Linked DNA regions of Homo sapiens: region 2 is linked to region 1. The links are contacts of gene promoters, found by promoter capture Hi-C in blood cells and fetal thymus (Javierre and others, 2016). All regions are on one chromosome and are shown on one strand. Each heading gives the region's core, a stretch centred on a gene start or on the middle of the fragment in contact. The rest is flanking DNA. Distances are from core to core; before and after follow the strand shown. Region 1 holds the start of YAE1-DT (YAE1 divergent transcript). Region 2 overlaps VPS41 (VPS41 subunit of HOPS complex).

The links. Contacts are between HindIII fragments. The CHiCAGO score rates a contact against its expected background, and 5 or more counts as called.
Region 2: a contact is called between a fragment that was not itself captured here and the fragment with the promoter of YAE1-DT in region 1, in 3 of 17 cell types (M1 macrophages, M2 macrophages and megakaryocytes). The highest score is 7.9, in M1 macrophages.

The regions. Positions count from the first base shown.
Region 1 is chr7:39,564,303-39,567,889 of GRCh38, forward strand. YAE1-DT (YAE1 divergent transcript) reads right to left here and starts at 2,047. Exons shown (of 3, transcript NR_187579.1): 1 at 1,841-2,047. YAE1 (YAE1 maturation factor of ABCE1) reads left to right here and starts at 2,102. Exons shown (of 3, transcript NM_020192.5): 1 at 2,102-2,245. The coding sequence starts at 2,117. It also overlaps the pseudogene TMX1P1. RefSeq lists an enhancer at 1,939-2,388. The HindIII fragment of the contact is 5,827 bases long and covers 1-2,815 here.
Region 2 is chr7:38,758,739-38,762,325 of GRCh38, forward strand. The region is part of intron 17 of VPS41 (VPS41 subunit of HOPS complex); the gene reads right to left. Among named protein-coding and RNA genes, the nearest start is that of AMPH, 130 kb to the left of the region's middle. The HindIII fragment of the contact is 3,581 bases long and covers 99-3,587 here.

The DNA of each region.
Region 1 (3,587 bases), core at 797-3,296:
CTGTAATCCCAGCACTTTGGGAGGCTGACACAGGAGGATAGCTTGAGCTCAGAAGTTGGAGACCAGCCTAGGCAACATAGTGAGACTCCTGTCTCTACAAAAAAATCAAAAAATTAGCCAGGTGCAGTGGTACATGCCTGTAGTCCTAGCTACTCAAGAGGTTGAGGCAGGAGGATAGCTCAAGCCCAGGAGATCAAGGATGCAGTGAGTTGTGATCTCACCACTGCACTCCAGCCTGGGTGACAGAGCAAGACGCTGTTTTAAAAAAAAAAAAAATAGTCAATGCAATGAAATATTATTGATGTCCTAATATTGCAAAAGTTTGCTTTCCTGGTACAAAACCTCTTAAATTATTCTTTTGATAAAGTACTACCAGGTTGGTGCAAAAGTAAACCCCAATTAATTTTGCACCAACCTACTAGATTCTCTTTTGGATATATATTCACAAGCTAACTTGAACTTTGGGGTTTTTCTGGTACTATCTTTATGAAGTTACAGTAAGGCTGGCTTCATGAAATGATTTAAGGAGTTTCTTCTTTTTCTCTCCCCTAAAATGGTAAAAATAGTTTAAGACTCCATCATTCCTTAAAGATTGCAAAGGACTTAATGTGAAACTCCCAAGTCTCCATGACATTTTTAATAGTAGATATTTAATGTCCAATTTTTCTATGGTAATTAGTCTCTTCATGACCCTACTTCTTGGGTCAATTTTCTTAGAAAGTCATTCATATCTCTCAGGTTTTCGAATGTGTTGCTTTTGAGTTTTAGTTGGTAATTAATATTTTAATCTCCTTCTGCATCAGTGGTTATCTCATTTCTCATTCTTGTATAATTTTGTTCTCTTTAAAAATCTGGGTCATGACAGGATTATCTATCTTATTGGTGTTTTCAAATAATACAAAAAAGAATTGGACTTACTTATTCAAGTTTTGAGGTTTTCTATTTTATTGTTATCTTTATTGCTTACTACCATTTTGTTCCTAATAAAGATATATACATATATCTTAATATATTTACATTAATAAAATATACATATTTGTAGTTTATATATTTTTTATTTGTGGGATGCCAAATTCTCTCTGGAGATTTAAAATTGTAACATGAACCAACCACCCACTCCCACACACTTATGGTTCTTACTGTGCTTATTTAAAAATTTTTTTCATAGCATTTATTTATGATCTTCTAACAAACCTTATGCTACTTATATATTGCTTATTGTTTATCCTGTCAATTTTACATGACTATAAAGTCGACAAGGGTTGGGAACTTCCGTCTGTTCATTGATGTATCCCAAAGCCTGGAATGGTACCTGACACAAGGTAGGTGTTCAATAAATTGTTAGATAAATAAATCATAATCACATGACTCATTTTACCCAGGCAAAGGGCAAAACAGGAATACTACAGGTATTCATTCATTCACCAAAATAGAGTTCAGCATTTACTATGTGTCAGAACTGTCCTGGTGTTGACACAAGTCCCCACCCTTACCAAACCAACTGTTTACTTTAGGGCATATGAACAGGAATGGGAGGCAGAAGGATATCGTGAATCAATGAAAAAATATATTGGCTTTACAAATGTACTCTATATTTCTTACTAATCTCAAATTGGCTACAGTACCTCGCTTTTCGATCCTATTTTCCTTTACTCCACAATCCTAACAGTTTAAAATGTCGGCTTGTCAAATCCTTTAAATGCAGAGGAGATTCCAAAAGAGACAAAGTATTTGGGTGGTAATCGCCCATCGACTTTACTACCTTTAATAGTTTACCAAAGCGCGCGAATGTAAAACCCAGACCATGGTAAGACTACGGTGGAAATGGAAGGTGTCTCACTGAGGGTCCCGGTTGCCTTCTGCAAAGGTGAAGGTCGTGCCGGCCACGCGAGGAAATCTGCCTCGCTCACAACTCACAGGCACACATCAACACTGCCAACCGAGGGAGCCCAAAATCACCGCAAGCGAAAGGCTCCGGCGGCGGCCACGGGCCACAGCCCGCCTCCGCGCACACGCAGCCCCTCCCGAGCCTCCACTCGCCGTCTTCGCCCCGCCTTCGGACCGGAAGGAGTTGTTGGCGCTTCCGGTGGCCTGCGACCCCGTAATTGCCTCGGTGATGTCGTGGGTTCAAGCAGCCTCCTTGATCCAGGGCCCTGGAGACAAAGGGGACGTGTTTGACGAAGAAGCAGACGAGTCGCTCCTGGCGCAGCGGGAATGGCAGAGTAACATGCAAAGACGAGTCAAAGTAAACGTGGTGTGGACGGCGCGGGGTGCTGGGTTGTGGGAAGAGGCGCGGAGTTGTGAAGAAGCTGGGTCCAGAGTGGCCCCAGCCTGGCCCGGCGCTGCTCTCTTTATCCCTAGGGACCCGGTCCGACCCGCGTCTTGCTAGGATTTCTCGATGGTTACTTGAAAGCGTGTAAAACAACAAGACGCATTCTTTGAGCGCCTACGGGATGCGTTAGAAACTGAGGACCGACCAAAATTAACTATGTGTAGACTTTGAACAGTTTGCAGTTTGTTGAGGATCACAGGGAAAGGAGCTGGAGAGAAACATACACTATACTTATTATGGCTGTCAAAGGACGTGTACGCAGTTTATATGGGTGGCTTGAATGGGTAGGGAGCCTAAAGTTAAGGAGTAGTGTTAATCAAGACATATTGAAAAGATGAACTAAAGCATGCTGTCAGAGGACAATAAGGGAAAGCTAATGTGGAATACTGGTGTCTAGGTAAGGGAATATTAAAGTTGGTTTCTTTTTTATTTGTTAGATGTAACTTTTTCATCTCTAATTTGTCTCACTATTCATTGAAACTAAGCTTAATTTCTGTGTGCAGCCTACAGTATTTCTGGGTGAGGACCAAATAGTGAGGTCCACATCCACTTAATATATTTGCCAACCATTAAATTGCCGCTAAAGCTGCAGTTGGGAATCTGCCCTGTTTAATATTTCAGTAGAGTGGTATTTGCTTAGCCCAAAAACCATGTTGTCAATTACAAAAATGCTTTATGTGAGACTGGGGCCACACTAATAAGTATTGAGCATCTTTTAAATGCTGTGGCACCGTGAGAGATGCAGAACGAAATCACTACCCACAGAGCTTTTGCAGGTTAGTTGAATTTAGGTATTATGCAAAATTTCTGAAACCAGACTTCTCATCATCCTTTTTTTTTTAAACAATTTCCTCTCTCTGCTTTGCCCTGTCTCCTCACCCACCCACACCATTCCAATCAGTTGGCAAGAGCCCAGATGTGTAATTTTCCATATATCCTTTTTGTGAAGACATTGCTAATGCTGGGTTTTGTTTTTTGTTTTTTGGTTTTTTTAATCTTTTGAAGTGATTAGAAAAGTTTATTTTGTGCTTAGGATATTTTTCTAAGGCATCACAGGTTACACATCCAAACTCTTCAATGGTATAATATTTTATATTCTAAAGGAGAGACCTTTAAAGAAAACTTGTACATTATGCTACTATAAGTCTAGTGGATTCTCCTATCCGCAGAGCCTAGAAAGAAGGGGACATTACAGAAATTGTCTACTACATAATGGTCAGTTGATTCATTGTATTTATGGTTTTCCCCCTTCTTG
Region 2 (3,587 bases), core at 639-3,138, 810 kb before region 1:
CCACCCCTGCCCCACAACCTCCAAGGAGGGGAGAGGGGCTGAAGGTTACACCGATCACCAATGGCCCAGTGTTTAAATCAATCATGTCTAAGTAATGAAGCTTTCATTAAAACCCAAAAGGAGTGGCTTTGGAGGGCTCCCCAAGAGCTGAACACCTGGAGGTTCCTGGAGGGTGGTGCACCCAAAGAGGACCTGGAAGCTCCATGCCTCTTCCCACATACCTTGCCCTCTGCATCTAATCCATTTGGCTGTTCATCTGTATCCTTTGCAATATTCTTTATAATAAACCAGTAAATGTAAGTAAAGTGTTCCCCTGAGTTCTATGAGCTGCTCTAGCAAATGAGTCAAATCTAAGGAGGTGGTAGTGGGAATTCCAGTTTATAGTTGACCAGTCGGAAGTACAGGTGACAGCCTATAACTTGTGATTGGTATGTCTGAAGTGGGGGCAGTCTTGTGGGCCTGAGCCCTCAGCCTGCAGGAACTGATGCTATCTTCATGTAGACAGTGTCAGAATGAACTGAATTAGAGGACATCCAGCTGGTGTCCACTGCAGAACTAATTGCTTTCTTGGTGTGTAGCGGAAAAACCCAGATATTTGGTCACAGAAGTGTTGTGTTGTGAGAGTATAGCATGAGAAACTGAGTTTGGTTTCTCCTAAATTCTCAAAACAAACCAAACAATTTAAACCATCCCTAAAAGTATTCACTTTTAGTCACATAACAGACCAAACAATTATATGATTAAAAGTTTGTTCAATAAATATTTCATCAATTTTCAGACTATGGGTCTGGGTGTGGTGAAGAGTTGCAGGGAATATTATTGTACAATAAATCTCCATTTAGCATTCCTGGGAGGCAGGTCGTGCCATCTACTTCTGTCCTTAGTTTTACGAAATGTACAACTAAGAAAGCTATCTTGTTCCTTCTATAAAGTGCATGGACAAGAGTTTAGGTTGGACTTGCCCCATCCCCATTCTGGACTAACTGTAACATTTGGATGACAGCTTTAACAGCTTACAGATATTACCCAAGTCAGCTACTTTCCCCACCACCAAGAGTCCTCTAATGCACTTAGGCCTGGGCTGCTGGGTGCAACTGGTTATGCAGTTGTGCACTGTATAGCCAGCACAACTGACCGTGGCAGTCTGCTTGGGACAGGGCTGCTCCCACAGTGAAACTGTCCAGCATTCTATATCTTTAACAAGTCACCATCTTGGTCCTCCTTCCACTTTGGCTTCTAATGCCAGTTTTATGTTGGAATTTGAGACTTTGGCTCAAGTCTTATCCCCTGGCTCTTATCCTGGCTATCTCTAGATCTCAAATTTTGTGGTTCCCCGATTTGATCCTGTTTCCGTCCCACAGCTGATTCTGGGCCAGTATCTTGCTCAGTCTCTACTCCCTGATTCCCGACTTTAGACTTCATGTTTTATAACTCAAAGTATGACAGAGCAGTTTACTTACTGATCCTTGACAATGTTTAGAACAAAAACATGTTCATAAGACAGTAAAGAGAATTAAAAACATCCACGTTATTAAATGTGAAAGGAAAATAAATTCTCAGGACCTCCAATTCACTAAGCCAAAGGGAAAGTTAAGGGAACTGAGTCATGCAAAAATTGCCTTCCTTTTGTTCCCAAACAGAGAGCTGTCATTTCACATGCTTCCTTTAGCTCATGTCAAAGCTAGATCTACTGAGCAAGAGATGAATGCATAATTGACTTTTTCCCCACTTCTCTCTTTTTACATGTAAAACGTAGATTTCCTGAGCTAATCAGAGCATCACTGGAATGTGACCAAGTGCCTCATTGCTTACTCTCCCCCTACTTATTTATTTATTTATTTTTAAAATTTGCTCCTTTGCCTCCTGCTTGCTCTTTCCCCTTTAAATTTTGAAGTCCTCAACAATCTCTTTGGAAAAAGCACAGGACACAGACCCTGTTTCTTTTCCCCAAGTATGTCCCTAACCTTGGCAAAATAAACCTTAAAGTCGATTGAGATCTGTCTCAGTCACTTTTTGGTTTATATAAAAAATAGTACATTATTACTATTAAATAACTCCATTAATACTTTAATGAACTACTGTGAATTTGTTTAAATAATACTTAGAAATGAAAACAATGTGATAGAAGCTGCTTCTGTAATGCACCAGGATTTGGTAAGAAAAGTGCAAAAGAATCAGTAATATAGTTTTCATTAAAGTTCCACCCGATTTCTACCAAAGTAGCCCCTGGAAGGATGGCAAGAGACCAGAACAAAAGACCACATATTTTCCATTTAGATTACAAACTTCTTATATATTAATATGATTGAAATTTTACTTCAGAAATTTGGGAATGGATTCAATCAGAACATTAAAATGTTTGTAGAACCAAAATAATATTTCAGATCAAGTTTCTTTCTTTTCTTCCTTCTCTGTTTCCCTTTCCTTGTCTTTCCTTCCTTGTCCTTCCTTTCTTCCCTCCCTCCCTTCCTTTTCTTTCTCTCTCTCTCCCTCTTTCTTTGTTTTTCTCTCTCTCTCTTCCTCTCTTTTTTTTTTTTTTTTTTTTTTTTTTTTTTCAGGTGGTGTTTCGCTCTGTCGCCCAGGCTGGAGTTCAGTGGCGCTATCTTGGCTCACTGCAACCTCCGCCTCCTAGGCTCAAGCAAGTCTCTCGCTTCAGCCTCCCAAATAGCTGGGACTACAGGTGCATGCCACCATGCCTGGTTAATTTTTGTATTTTTTTTTTTTTTAGTAGAGACGGGGTTTAACCATGTTGGCCAGGATGGTCTCCATCTCCTGACCTTGTGATCCGCCCGCCTCAGCCTCCCACAGCCTCCCAAAGTGCTGGGATTACAGGGGTGAGCCACCACACACAGCCTCTTTCTTTCTTTTTGTGAGAAAGGGTCCCACTCCGTCACCTAAGCTGGAGTGCAGTAGCATGATCACAGCTCACTGCAGCCTCAGCCTCTAGGGTCAAGTGATCCTCCCACCTCAGCCTCCTGAATAGCTGAGAGTACAGGCATATGTCACAGCACTCAGCTAATTTTTAGTTTTTTATAGACAGGTCTCACTATGTTACCCAGGCTGGTTTTGAACTCCTGGGCTCAAGCAATCCTCCCACCTTGGCCTCTCAAAGTGCTGGGATTACAGATGTGAGCCACCGTGACAGCCCTGTTTTCTTAAGACTATATAAGATAAAATAGTCTGTAAAGATTTCTACCCCAATACCAGCAGCTCACAGTAGCCCCTAGACCATTAATAATAATGCTCAGGGAAAGAAGAAAGTTTGGCCTCATTTTTTCTTTTCCCTATCATGCAACAGCCTCATGGTACTGCCAACTTCGAACACAAAATAAAGACAAAATAACCAGTCATCTTGTATGATAAAAGCATGATGACCCCACCATAAACTGAAATAAACATCTATCATATTTCATGTTAGGCTTCTCTCTGTTCAACTGGCTTTGTGTACCCTTGAATAAATGTGCTACCCAAGAAATATTTATAAAATCTATCTGTGGCCATTATTACTAATTAGAGGACACAGGAACAAGGGACCTGTTATGATTGAATGAGCAAAGTTATAGAAAACCTCAGTACCTATCATAATA